Linked DNA regions of Homo sapiens: all the other regions are linked to region 5. The links are contacts of gene promoters, found by promoter capture Hi-C in human tissues and cell types (Jung and others, 2019). All regions are on one chromosome and are shown on one strand. The core of a region is centred on a gene start or on the middle of the fragment in contact, and the rest is flanking DNA. Distances in the headings are between cores, read along the strand shown.

What was found. The method cuts DNA at HindIII sites, captures the fragments that hold promoters and counts their contacts. A contact is called where the count stands out against the background at its distance.
Region 1: a fragment that was not itself captured here is called in contact with the fragment with the promoter of GIT1 in region 5 in 1 of the 25 tissues and cell types used here (spleen).
Region 2: a contact is called between a fragment that was not itself captured here and the fragment with the promoter of GIT1 in region 5, in 1 of the 25 tissues and cell types used here (lymphoblastoid cells).
Region 3: a contact is called between the fragment with the promoter of TAOK1 here and the fragment with the promoter of GIT1 in region 5, in 2 of the 25 tissues and cell types used here (IMR-90 fibroblasts and dorsolateral prefrontal cortex).
Region 4: a contact is called between a fragment that was not itself captured here and the fragment with the promoter of GIT1 in region 5, in 3 of the 25 tissues and cell types used here (lymphoblastoid cells, spleen and thymus).

Annotation. Positions count from the first base shown.
Region 1 is chr17:29,830,898-29,833,597 of GRCh38, reverse strand. The region is part of intron 2 of SSH2 (slingshot protein phosphatase 2); the gene reads left to right. The region is part of intron 1 of LOC124900390 (a long non-coding RNA gene); the gene reads left to right. Among named protein-coding and RNA genes, the nearest start is that of SSH2, 98 kb to the left of the region's middle. The HindIII fragment of the contact is 5,151 bases long and covers 1-2,700 here.
Region 2 is chr17:29,745,040-29,747,739 of GRCh38, reverse strand. The region is part of intron 3 of SSH2 (slingshot protein phosphatase 2); the gene reads left to right. Among named protein-coding and RNA genes, the nearest start is that of SSH2-AS1, 110 kb to the right of the region's middle. The HindIII fragment of the contact is 3,441 bases long and covers 1-2,700 here.
Region 3 is chr17:29,389,085-29,391,784 of GRCh38, reverse strand. It overlaps TAOK1 (TAO kinase 1), which reads right to left and starts at 1,422. Exons shown (of 20, transcript NM_020791.4): 1 at 761-1,422. MIR4523 (microRNA 4523) reads right to left here and starts at 1,123; the gene lies at 1,055-1,123. RefSeq lists enhancers at 17-256, 1,417-1,506, 1,627-1,866 and a silencer at 907-1,376. The HindIII fragment of the contact is 18,861 bases long and covers 1-2,700 here.
Region 4 is chr17:29,766,657-29,769,356 of GRCh38, reverse strand. The region is part of intron 3 of SSH2 (slingshot protein phosphatase 2); the gene reads left to right. Among named protein-coding and RNA genes, the nearest start is that of SSH2-AS1, 130 kb to the right of the region's middle. The HindIII fragment of the contact is 5,686 bases long and covers 1-2,700 here.
Region 5 is chr17:29,588,215-29,590,914 of GRCh38, reverse strand. GIT1 (GIT ArfGAP 1) reads left to right here and starts at 1,267. Exons shown (of 20, transcript NM_014030.4): 1 at 1,267-1,588. The coding sequence starts at 1,537. RefSeq lists enhancers at 287-1,186, 2,086-2,700 and silencers at 939-1,418, 1,679-1,868. The HindIII fragment of the contact is 8,209 bases long and covers 1-2,700 here.

The DNA of each region.
Region 1 (2,700 bases), core at 197-2,696, 240 kb before region 5:
TATCAATATTAACATTGAATGTAAATGGACTAAACTCTGCAATCAAAAGACATAGAATAACCAAATAGAGAAAAAACAAGATCTAATGATCTGTTGCCTATAAGAAACACACTTCACCTATAAAGACACATATAGACTAAAGATAAAGGAATGGAAAAAGATATTCCATGCCAATGGAAACCAAAAAAGAGCAAGGGTAGCTATACTTATATCAGATAAAATAGATTTCAAGACAAAAACTATAGAGACAAAGAGGACTATTATATAATGATAAAGGAATTAATTCAGCAAGAGGATATAACAATTGTAAATATATATGCACCCAACATTGGAGCACTCAGATATATAAAGCAAATATTATTAGAGTGAAAGAGAGAGATGAACCCCAATACAATAATAGTTGGATACTTCATCATTCCACTTTCAATATTGGAAAGATCATCCAGACAGAAAATCAAAGAAACAGCAGACCTAATCTGCACTATAGACCAAATGGAACTAATAGATATTTACAGAACATTTCTTCCAATGGCTACAGAATACACATTTTTTCTCAGCATATGGAGCATTCTCAAGAACAGACCATATGTTAGACCACAAAACCAGTCTTAACAAAGTAAAAGAAAAAAATGGCTGGGCTCTGTGGCTTACACCTGTAATCCCAGCACTTTGGGAGGCCGAGGCAGGTGGATCACCTGAGGCCAGGAGTTCAAGACCAGCCTGGCCAACATGGTAAAACTCTGTCTCTACTAAAAACACAAAAATTATCTGGGTGTGGTGGTGCACACCTGTGATCCCAGCTGCTCGGGAGGCTGAGGCACAAGGATCGCTTGAACCTGGGGGAAGTTGCAGTGAGCTGAGATCATGCCACTGTACTCCAGCCTGGGCAGTAGGGTAAGACTGTCTCAAAAAAAGAAAAGAAAAAACTGGAAAACCAAAAAAAATTGAAATCAAGTATCTTCTCTGACCACAATGGAATAAAACTAGAAATCAGTAACAAGAGGACCTGTGGAAACTATATAAATACATGGAAATTAAACAGTATGCTCCTGAATGACCAGCAGGTCAATGAAGCAGTTAAGAAAGAAATTTTAAAATTTCTTGAAACAAATGGGTAGAACAAAATTTTATAGCCATCATTCATTTATTCAAACATTACTTAAAGGAAAAACAGGGCCAGGCTCACGCCTATAATCCCAGCACTTTGGGAGGCCAAGGCAGGAGGATCACTTGGGTGCAGGACTTCAAGATCAGCCTAAGCAGCATAGGGAGACTCCATCTCTACCAGAAATTTAAAAAATTAGCTGGGTATGGTGATTCCAGCTACTCAGGAGGCTAAGGTGGGAGGATCCCTTGAGTCCAGGAATTCAAGGCTGCAATGAGCTGTGATAGCACCACTGCACCCTCACCTGGGCAACAGAGCGAGACCCCATGTCAAAAAAAACAGAAGATAGCTTTTATCCTCAAATGCTCAAAGCCTAGAAAGACAGATTTATAAGTAAAATGATTGAAATACAGTGTGGTAAGTACAGTAATAGAGAAAATGTGTATAATAGGTACAGTTGCGGCACAAGAAGAGAATAGTCCATTCCTTGCCAAATTTGAAAAATGAGCAAAACTTACATATACGCTCTGATTACAACTACATAAAAACTATATATAAATAAATAACAAAAGAAGAATGAAAACACACAAGAGGCCTTAAGTATAAACAGTTGCAGCTGAGCACAGTGGCTTACACCTGTAATCTCAGCACTTTGGGAGGCCGAGGCTGGTAGATCACCTGAGGCCAGGAGTTGGAGACAGCCTCGCCAACATGGCGAAACCCCGTCTCTACCACAAATACAAAAAAAAAAAACTTAGCTGGGCGTGGTGGCACATGCCTGTAATCCCAGCTATTCAGGAGGCTGAAGCAGAAGAATCACTTGAACCCAGGAGGCAGAGGTTGCAGTGAGCCGAAATCGCACCATTGCACTTGAGCAACAAGAGCAAGACTCCATCTTAAAAAAAAAAAAAAAAAAAGATAAACAGTTGCATTCTGGTAGTGAGATGGCAAGAAGTGTCAAAGTTGTTTTATTGGTATCTTACAGTGAAAATTTTTAAAATTCACTTTAGACTTAAAAATAAGCTGGGATTCTTTGGAGTCTTACATCTAGATTAGCGTCTCTTATTTGTAATCTTAAAGATGAAAATATAGGAAATACTGTATTTGCCCTAAGTTAATACAGGAGAGAAAGAGGTTTTTATCACACACATCCTTTTACCTTTCCCCTCCTCAATTTAAGTCTGAATCTCTGCAGGCTACTGTGAAGAGCCTTGGAACTGAGTAGCGTATAGGTTATGTCTGCAGACGTGTTCAATGTCCTTTGGGGGAGGTTTCTTTCTACATGTAACTGCTTTTTTCCTTCTCAAATTTCTTTAACAGTAGCAGACCCTCACCCGGGTCTGCTAGATGCCTTAAAGGTGAGCTGCAAAGCAGCCACGACTATATCAAACAATTCTGGCACCCAGAATTTATGGCTTATCCTGTTATGAGCTCCATATAACAAGTAAAAATTAAAATCCACTGGCACGTTAATCAAATGTAATGTTGCTGTGTAGTAATAATTTAAATTCTACTATGCAAAGTTATGCCCAGGACTTATGATCAGCCTCCATCTCTCATTGTCATGCATTAAAGCACTACTGCTTCATTTCCTT
Region 2 (2,700 bases), core at 194-2,693, 160 kb before region 5:
CACAATTTCTGAATCTTTCACATACTTTACAATTTCTAAGGTGGAAAGAAAAAATCAGTATCCTATTTTTAGTTAGGGTTAGAGTTAGCTTTGCATCGTTGAATGATACAGGATGGTTGCTGTATAACTAACATAATTAAGTTTACCTTAAAGAAATATGCTAAGAACATCAAGGCCTTTTTAGGTGTTCCTGTAATTTGGAAAGGGTGTAGCCAGTAATTTATAAATAGATTGTTCTTGTTGCACACCAAAGGGCAAATCTGGGCTCACCCTTTTTGCATGTTGTGTGAATTTAACAACTTGTGTTTTCTGCATTAATCTATTTTTAGAGGGGTATAACCCCTCTTTTAGTAATTCGAGGGATTTGGCTTAGTTACACTTGGTAAAGCTACAAAATCCAGAGGTTTGAATCACTCCTAAATAAAGAGAAGCCTCAGTATTAGCCAATTATAAGCTTTCTTTAAAAGTTGTAACAATTTAGGTTTCCAGGGTAGAAGAAGTAGAATTATTTGATTTTTTTTGGTAATGAACTAAACTATTTAAATTGTTGTATATGTTTGTTTGAGGATGGTACCTGCCTCATTTCAGGACATTTTGGATATCACGTGAGATAATTATTCACAAGAAATAACAATAAAAATTCCAGTTATGGTTGTTACTTTTATCATCTGTACTTAATATTTATCCATCAAAATTTACATGGATATTCGTGATCCATAACAGGATATTTCAAGTCCTGAGCGTTCTAATTGTGGACTTTATATTGATTGTCTTCTGTAGTGACTGCGGAAAAGTTTATGCTACATATGGCTTTATCTGTTTGCAACTTAAGCAACACTTTAAGCATACTTCATCACCCCAGCAAAAAGCTGGTCAGGTTTATGAGCTTGGCATCTTATTGGTGCATTTTTGTCTCTGCTGTTCTCTGAATTTTGTGTCATAAAAACCAGTTAGTCTCCATGAGGGCTAAATTGAATGAGAGTTTTTTTCCTCTGATTTTAAATAAATATCACTTACAACAGAGCTCTTGGGAGATGCCATTTCTTCAGGACTCTCCTCTGACCCACGTCCCTTTTAAGTTACTCTTTCTCTTAATGTTAATATACACAGTTCTCATGAACATCAAAAGTTTTAATTTCCCATAATTGTATCATCTCTCTTTTTTCCTTTTTTTTTTTTTTTTTTTTTTTTTGAGACAGAGTCTCACTCTGTCGCCCAGGCTGGAGTGCAGTGGTATGATCTTGGCTCACTGCAACCTCCGCCTCCCGGGTTCAAGGGATTCTCCTGCCTCAGCCTCCCTAGTAGCTGGGATTACAGGCGTCCACCACCACACCCGGCTAATTTTTGTTTTTTTTTAGTAGAGGCGGAGTTTCGCTATGTTGGCAAAGCTGGTGTTGAACTCCTGACCTCAGGTGATCTGCCTACCTCAGCCTCCCAAAGTGCTAGGATTACAGGCATGAGACATTGCACCTGGCCTCATCTATTTTTAGGGGGAGCTTTAGTTTGAAAAGTTGGGGTTTCTGTGGCAGGATGTGAATTCTCAATGTAAATCTCTCTTCCTAAGAGATGAGTGAAATAAATGGATTCAAACAACAAATAAAACTGAACCTCTTTGAAGTCCCTTTGAACAGACTTGATATCTATCATTGTGTTAATCCTACCTCTGTGATGCCCTTCCCTCCTCAATAAAATCTCACACTTAATTCTTAAAGTATCCCGTTCCTTAAACATTCTCTTTAAAAACTCTTAAAAGATTTATTGGGTCACATATTCAGAATAACTACTTGCCATTTGTTATTGTACCTAACAGTAATAGTGCAGTGTTTGAAATGAAATGGACCTGAGCTCCAGAGTTCATCATTTATTATCTGTGTGACTTTGAACATATTATATAATCACCCTAAACCTTTTTCCTCATCAGTAAAATGGAACTTATAATACCTATGAGGATTAAATACGATATGGTAGCTTAAATTTTTGCTCATTTTGCTCTTTTGATATGAGCCAAATTATAGGAGAAATAATTAGAGTGGCACACTAGCATGATGGTAAACATTCTGTCATTTCCATCATTATCCTAAATTGCATCTATTCTGTGTAAGAAGTAAGAGATAAAAAAGAAGTACAAGACATGGTTCCTGAAGACAGGATACTCAGTTTGTTGAGGAAATAAGACGTCAATGAAGGGATAAATAAGAGCACAATTTATTGCATGGTAAGTGTCAGATGAACAGTACAATTTGTGCTTTAGAAATTCAGAGAACAGAAGGGTATCATTGTAGCTGGGTGCGGTGGCTCACGCCTGTAATCCCAGCACTTTCAGAGGCCGAGGCAGGCGGGTCACTTGAGTTCAGGAGTTCAAGACCAGCCTGGCCAACATGGTGAAACCCCGTCTCTACTAAAAATACAAAAATTAGCCGGGTGTGGTGATGGGCGCCTGTAATCCCCGCTACTCGGGAGGCTGAAGCATGAGAATCGCTTGAACCCAGGAGGCAGAGGTTGCAGTGAGCTGAGATCCTGCCACTGCACTCCAGCCTAGGTGACAGAAAAAGACTCTGTTTCAAAAAAAAAAAAAGAAAAACGAAAAGAAAATTACTTTGAGCATACTTTGGGTATATCATATGGGCAGAGCATCCGGAGTATCTACTAGGCACATAGCACAGTAACCAGTGTTTGCAGATTTTACATAGTTTATTTAGG
Region 3 (2,700 bases), core at 173-2,672, 200 kb after region 5:
AAACTGTTCTAACAGGAGAGGTGTCCCTCTCGAGAGGCCATATCCCCCAACAATAACACCAGAACAGATACACTTCCCATGGACAGATCTCAGGGGAAGAGTATTAAAACGATACTGTCGTCGATTTAAAACCAAAGGAAAAAGAGTAACCTTTTCAAGGGAAGCGCCATTACTTCCCTCTCCTGCTCCCCCTCCCTTCTGTGTATACATGGGTCTGTGTATGAAGAAACTGCCTTGGACTTCTGCAGCATTGCAGTAGACTAGAGGATGGGGAAGGGGGAAGGGTACGGGGAGAGAAACGCTTCCATCGCCCCTACAGAAGAGGGGTATAGATTTCCTGTGCTAGGGGGTGGAATCCACCCAGCAAGCCACCCAGAGCAGTCTCCCTTCCCAAGAATACACAGACACTACAAAGGAGAAGAGGAGCAAAGGCACCAGAGGGGAAGGGGACCTCGCGCCTTTAAACCGGGGTGCACATCAACCCAGTCTCCCTGTGAGGGCCACACCTTCCTCGAAACATCCCCCTTCCACCACCCCTTCCGGTGACCCTCAGGAAAAAGGAATGGAATTGCTCTCGCCCCTTAAAACCGGAGGGCGCCCAGCTCACCAGCTTCTTCACCCCACCCACAGAATCACAGACCCTCCTTTTCTCCCTCCCCCACCCCACTCCCACATCCCTTCTTCCACACACAGGCCCGAGTGGGCCGAATTTCCCCGCCCCCCTCTATATCCCCCTTTCCCAAAGCAGAGGTGCCCTTACCCTTTCGCCGACAGGTCTGGGGCGGAGCAGGCAGGCGCAGCCCCCTGCAGCGCTCCGGTAGCCGCTACCCTGGAGGGTGAGGAGTGAGGAGGAGGAGGGGGCCCGGCGACAGATCGCCGCCCCCCACCCCCGAGCCCCAGCAAGCCGCCCAGCCCAAGCTCTGCAACAAGGGGCGGCGGCGGCGGGGGGTGGGGGGGGGGGCGAGGGGACGACCGGGGTCGAGGAGGCGCCCTCAGCGCTTGGGCTCAGTTAAGATGGCGCGGGGAAGTGCCGGGAGCCGTCTCCGTCGCCGCCTCGGGGGAACCGGCCCGGGCCTCGGCCGCCTCTAGTCCTCACACAGCCGAGGCCCTCTCGGTCCCCCGCCGCGGCCCCTCGGCGGGCGGGCCCACGCGCAGCCCTCCGCCACCAACACCACCCCTGGTAAGGAGGCGCTCACAAAGGGAAGAGAGGCCGCGGGCCGGCCGGCGGACGGCGGGGCGGGGTCCCCCGGGGCCGGGAGGCCTCAGATGTTCGCGAGTGCCTAGTGCTTTCGGCCCGCGAAGGGCGCAGGGCGAGCGGGACCCCTCCTCTCTCCTCAGGCAGGCGGCGGCACCGACTCAGTCTCTTTGCCACCCTCCCTCTCTCTCCCCGAGCCCTGAAGCCACAGAGCCCGGCCGCTGCCCAGCTTCCCCCCCTTTACCCGACACCACTCCCCTCCTCCAGACCGTCATCCCCCGTCTCCGATCTCGCGAGATTTTCCGCCTGACAGGCCGGACCCTGCGCGAGACACGACTACATGCGCGCGCGCGCGCCCTCACAGGAGCGCGCAAGGCTTGCTACGGGCAGAGTTGTCCCGGTGGCCCGGAGTTCCAGCCTCTGTCCAGCATGGCCTCACTGAGTTCGCGGAGCTTCTAATGCCACGCGGGCGTCAGGTGCATTCATTTCACCCCGGAGATCTGAAGAAGAAGAGTTTATCTGCATTCCCCTTCCTTCCTGCTTCCCACCTCCAAAGCCCGCCACTGATCCTGCGAATAAGTTTGCCCTGAAGTGTGGAATATCCCATTCCTGCACAACTCGGTTCTACACCCCCTCCCCCGTGGGATTCAGAGGTACACTGGGCAGCGCAATCAGTATGCAGTTGAGTTTTTGAGATTCTAATAGTTGATACTAATTCTTGGAACGACAGTAAGACTTGGAAATACAGATCTAAGCCACCCTATATATTGGTGATGTAGAAAAGAGATAACTTCTTGAAAAGTGTCTGTGGGTTTAGTAGGTTGAGTAATGAGAAGTTTTGGAACAAGAGCAGCAAACAAACTAAAGACTCCTATGCAAAGAAGAAGTAGAGTTTTTATTCTTTTATCTCAAAACTTTTTTTTTTTTTTTTAGGGAAAACTCCCTCAGTACTTATTCAAGAACCTAAAAGTGTAAGGCCGGGCGCGGTGGCTCACGCCTGTAATCCCAGCACTTTGGGAGGCCGAGGCGGGCGGATCACGAGGTCAGGAGATCGAGAGCATCCTGGCTAACACGGTGAAACCCCGTCTCTATTAAAAGATAGAAAAAAATTAGCCGGGCGTGGTGGTGGGCGCCTGTAGTCCCAGCTAGCTACTCGGGAGGCTGAGGCAGGAGAATGGCGTGAACCCGGGAGGCGGAGGTTGCAGTGAGCCGAGATTGCGCCACTGCACTCCAGCCTGGGCGACAGAATGAGACTCGTCTCAAAAAAAAAAAAAAAAAAGAGAGAACCTAAAAGTGTACACAAAGTGTAGTCATAAAAAATCTTGGTTCTTTAACCAACAAAACGACTGAAATAAATAAACCTGTTATATGAGTTTCATGAATAAAAATTAACTCTGGGCCGGGCCCGGTGGCTCACGCCTGTAATTATAGCACTTTGGGAGGCTGAGACGGGCGGATCACCTGAGGTCAGGAGTTCGAGACCAGGCTGGCCATAGTAGATCTGT
Region 4 (2,700 bases), core at 9-2,508, 180 kb before region 5:
AATACCAGATGCAGTCAGGTAGGTATTTAAGGTCCCCAAGAGTTCTTTCTCCCTGTTGGCAATAGACCTTTTCAGTTTAAACCTGTAATGAACCTCCATCATCATGGAGACAATATAGAATACTGTTTAAGAAAGAAGGTTCTGGAGCCAGAATAACTGGCTGGATTTGAAATACTGCTGTATAAGCTTAGGCAAATTATTTAACCTCTCTGAGCCTCATAGAGATAATAATAGAATCATAGGATTGTTTATAAGAATTGAGATAGTGCATGTAAACTCTATTTTTTTATTATTTTTTATTTTTTACAGAGATAGGGTCTCCCTATGTTGCCTAGGCTGGTCTCGAATTCCTGGAGTCAAGGGATCCTCCTGCCTCTGCCTCCCAAAGTGCTAGGATTACAGGTGTGAGCCACCACACCTGGCCATGTAAACTCTTAATAGAGCACCTGACACACACTGAATGTCAGCTCAAAAATTTCAGTTATTTTATTTTCAAAACCTTCTTGGCTCTTTTAGCCTCCATTCTTTGTTACTCCCAAAATCACTTCCCATTTTTCTATCTCTGTCTTACTACATTCTAGGACACTGATGGTATTAGGCCACATTAGGTTCATTCACCTATAATGTTAATAAGTTCTACAGCATTATCATTGAACAGATCTCAAAATATCTTCTGAATTTATAGAAAAGCTCCAATATATTCCTAAATTAGAAGTAAATAATTTTAAAATTTTCTGAATTTAAAATTGTATTATCTTCAAAGTAGCTTAATAATTACATTTACCAGCCAGGCATGATGATTCATACCTGTAGTCTCCACACTTTGGGAGGCCAAGGCAGGAGGATCGCTTGAGCCCAGAAGTTTGAAACCAGCCTGGGCAACATGGCAAGACTTCGTCTCGACAGGTGTGGTGTTACATGCCTGCAGTCCCAGCTACTTGGAAGTTGAGCCAGGAGAACTGCTTGAGCCCAGGCGGTTAAGAGTGCAGTGAGCTGTGATTGTGCCACTGCACTCCAGTCTGGATGACAGAGCGAGACCCTGTCTCAAAAAAAAAAAAAAAAAAAAATTTACATTTATCTTGTTATAGTCTAAGTAGTTCTTTGGAAAAAATAATCCATAATATAGTTCCTCATAATATTTTTCTTTATAAATTTTCTACTTTATTCCCATAAACATATTTTACTTTTCTAATATATATATTTTTAGCTTTTAATGTAATGTGTAAAAGACAGGGTATAGAAGAGCATCTTGGGCCCTGAGTTAATTTAATAGATCATGGAGTAGCAGGAGACACTAATAATGCACAGGAAAATAAAAAACTAAACTCTTTAGGTAGGCAGTTTGATAATATCTACCAGGTCCTAAGATGTTTAAAATATTTCAAACTGCCAATTCCACCTCTAGGTGTTGATCCAACAAGTATATTCACATGTATGCACAAATATTTTTTTCAATATCCCTGTCATGACATGAACAAAAATTATACAAACACATGTTCATAGTGATATTGTATATAATAGTAAAGACTGGAAACAACTTAAATGCCCATAAGTAAAGGACTATTTAAATAGATTATATATGATTGTACAATAAAATGCCTTATACTCCTTTAAAAGAATGAGGGAGACTTACAATAACATGGAAAAATGTCTAAGGTATAGTGATAAGTAGGGGGAAATGCAAGTAGAATAATATGTATAATTCTGTGTGTGTGTGTGTGTGTGTGCGTGTGTGTGCATGTATGCTTCTTAAAGAGCAGCTACAATATATTGCTGTTTGCATATACAAGCAAAATTTCTGGAAATATTAATAACAATCATCTCTGGGAGTAAGATGATGAGAATGAGAATGGTGACTTTCATTTTACCTTTCTGAATTCTAAAAAGATTTAAGCATTCAGCATGTGTTAATGTTATTTAAAAAAAAAACTAGTTTAAAAAATAAAATGTTTCATCCCTGAGAGGTCTAAAAAAAAAAAAGAAAAAAGAAAACGTTTAAAGAGATAAAGTGGGGACTAAATGGTTAAATGTTTTGTAAAGTGTGTTTGATGTGAAAAGTGATCTGTAAATACCTATTATTTTTACTAAACAATAGAGTTTGGGGCTTTTGTAACCTGAAGAAAGCAGCATTTCAGCATCTCTTCCTACAGGAGCATATGGTGTTTAAGACTATGGGGGGATGAATGCCTTAGAGATCACCTCTCCTAGAGTTGATAGGCAGATCTTTTCAGTGTTTTCCATTGCTCTTATGGAGGAAAAGTTCCATGGAAAAGACTATAAAGGTTCAGTGACATTGCTTAATCCAGTGTTTAAAACTATGGTCAGATATTCTTTTTTTAAAAATTAGCCACATGGTGATTGCAAAACATGATTGCTTTTAAGTGCCTTTGTTTACAAAGTTTGGTTTATTGTATTATATAAAGAATGCCATTGACTAAGTGTAGTAAGATACCTCTTGGTGAAAATTCAGATATTATCTTGAGAGTTTTGTCCTAGTGTTTTACAGATTAACAGGAGACAGAATGTTGCATTACTCTGTAATTCTAAGTGTTGGTTTTCTTCCTTTTGATACTCAGGGGATTAACTTACTGTTTATTTTTCTACATCGAGCCCTTAGAGAAAACATAAAAATACAAATAGGTCCTGTGGTATAATCATTTTTTCTTATGAGTAAGTATTTTAAAACTAAAATTATGTAAG
Region 5 (2,700 bases), core at 18-2,517:
CCCATGGATCGCGATTTCAAACAAACTTGTCAATCTGGGCCGCAGCAAAAGGCGATGGAGGCAGCTTTGCATGTATTTCGGGTGGTGTGACTCATGAGCATTACTTGTCTCCCCTAGGGAAGGAGCCTGCCCACCCACAAATCACTGCCGCTCTGGCACCGTTGGGATAATCGACCAACTTGAGCACCCCTGCCAAAGGACTGCCCCCATCTTAACAAGCAGGAGTCTCTGACTCTTGGAGAACCCCTCCTCAATTGTCACCACTGACCTGGCCCCCAGGTCTGGCCCTGGGGACCTCTACCCTCTCCCCACAAGCAGAGTGCCCGGGCCTTTTGCTGCTGCAGGGATTGGGGGTTGGGTACACGCGCGGCACACGCGTATGGGGGCGCATGCTCAGTGCGGGGGCTGCGCTCATGTGCGGCCTCTACCTAGGCTCCCTGCCCCCCAGCCCACCCACGTCCCTCACCTGCCTTGCCTTTGCCTGCCTCGTCGTGTGAAGTCCAGGAAGAAAGGCCGTCACCTGAAACGGCCCCTCTATGTTATATGCACCCTTTCTGGACACACACACCTCTGGTGGCCCAGAAACACCGTGGGTGTGTGTAAGGCGGATGACAAGTGGATGTGAGTGCACACAGGCACAGTGGTCACTCCTCGGGAGGTCTTTAAAAACCGCCCAGATTCTCTCCTCTCTGGATGGAAGGATGCATGGAGAGATAGATATATTTTTAGTCCGGAGGCAGGGGAATACACTGCCTGACCTTTCTGGCACCTGGGCGTCCATATTGTTAGCAGTGGGCGTATTCAGCAAGAGTGTGACACATACACACACACCCCTGGACACACAGATGTGGACACCTACGGGACAGGGACGCACACCTCACCCCAACCAGAGATAGACGGGTACCCCAAGGCACAGCCCCTTTGACCTGGAGCGGGACTTGGGCCTCCAAGTCCTTCTTCCCTAATCCCCACCCTCGCCGTCCGTGGGCCCAGCGTCCCCCGGTCCACCCCACGCGGAAAGTGAAGGGGAGGGGGCTGTGAGGGTGACTCACATTGCCTCCGGGCCAGGCGAGCGCTGCAGCGGAGGCCAGGGCCGCAGGCCACGCTGCCCGCCGGGGCCGGGCATCTGCCGCGGCCCCTTTAAGCGCCCCCGCCCCCTCCTGCCCGCGCCCGGGCTTCCTTTCTCTAGGGGGCGCGGCCGGCAGCGCGCGGCGGGGCGGGGGTGCGGCCCCTCCCCCTGTGGGCAGGGCCTGCGCCGCTTCCTGCAGAAGCGGCCGGGAGCCGCGCAGGGGGCGGAGAGAGGAGCCGCGAGCGGCGGCGGGGCGGCGCGGGGCGGAGGGCGCCCGAGGGCGAGCGGGCAGGCGGGCACGGCGGGTTCCGGGCCAGCCCCGGGGCGGACGGTTGGCCGGGCGCGCGGAGCCTCGCCGGGGCCTCGCCGGAGCCGGGCCGGGCAGCAGGGGCCGCCGCCGCCGCCCGGGCCCGCCGCCCGCGCCCCCCACGCTGGCCCAGAGGGCTGCGGCCGCGTCGCCGCTGAGGATGTCCCGAAAGGGGCCGCGAGCGGAGGTGTGTGCGGACTGCAGCGCCCCGGGTAAGCGCGGCGGGGCCGGGGGCGGGACCGCACAGCCAGGCCGCCGCCGGGCGGGCGCCGGGGCCTGGCAAGAGCGCTGTGCGGGGCCGGAGGGCTGGGCGGGGCGGGGGGCTGCGGCCTCCAGGCTGGGCCCCCGCCTCGGCCACTGCGGAGCTGCGCCCTTGGCGGGAGGGCCGGCCTGGGGTGCCCATGCTCCCTGGAGGCCGTGGACTAGCGAGGAAGGACGTTCCCGGCGCCGCCTCCCGCTCCTCGGTCTGAGGGAGGCGGGCAGCTGGCTGCTCCTCCACCTCCATCTCTGTATCCGACGGAAGCGCCAGCCTGGGGTGGCAGGAGGGCCGTGGCGGAGGCCGTCAGGGCTTGGGAGGTGGGGGCGAGTGTGGTTTTATGTCATCTCAGTGCCACCCCCGCGTCTTGCACCTGCTGCTCGCGTGGTCGGTACGCCTGCCGGGGTGGTGGAGGGCAAGGAGCAGAGGGCCGGGCAGATGCGCCAGTGGGGCCTGAATACCGTCTCCTCAGGAGCAGATGAGCGGTGGCTACTCCCAGGACTCCCTGCCTCGGGTTCCTAAGGCTAGCGCTCCTTGCCGGGCCTGGCGTTCAGGGCCAGTCTAGACCCGGGTGTCTTCTCGGGAGGCATCCCCAGGCCTGCTGGTGGTGACTGGGAACAGCTCGGCTGGACCCTGCTGTTCCTGTTCACCGGTAAGGCCTGCTTGGGAAAGTGAGCTTGGCATCAAGCTATCCTGGGTGCGGGCCCCTCCCTGTCCCCTAGCCCAGTCTGGCCAGAAATGGGTGGGAGGCCGTGCCGAGATTCCCCGTATCCTGCTGGCTTCCTGGCCTGTCTCCTGGCTGTATTTACATGGTGGTTCCCTTCCTTTTCCTAACAGAGTTAGGACTGGGCTGGAGTGAAACCCCCCAGGCCTGCTGAGGAAGTCAGGGGTAATGATCCAAGAGGCTGCTCCCTTCTGATGAGGGAGGACAGCCAGTGACGGGGCTCTGCAGCTGGCCTGGGAAGGAAGCTCTAGCCCACATCCATTCTTTCTTTAGCAAAGGAGCTATCTCCCTGGTAGGCCCCTGGGCAGGCTGCGGAGGTCCGTGAACTCTAGCGGGGCTGTGGG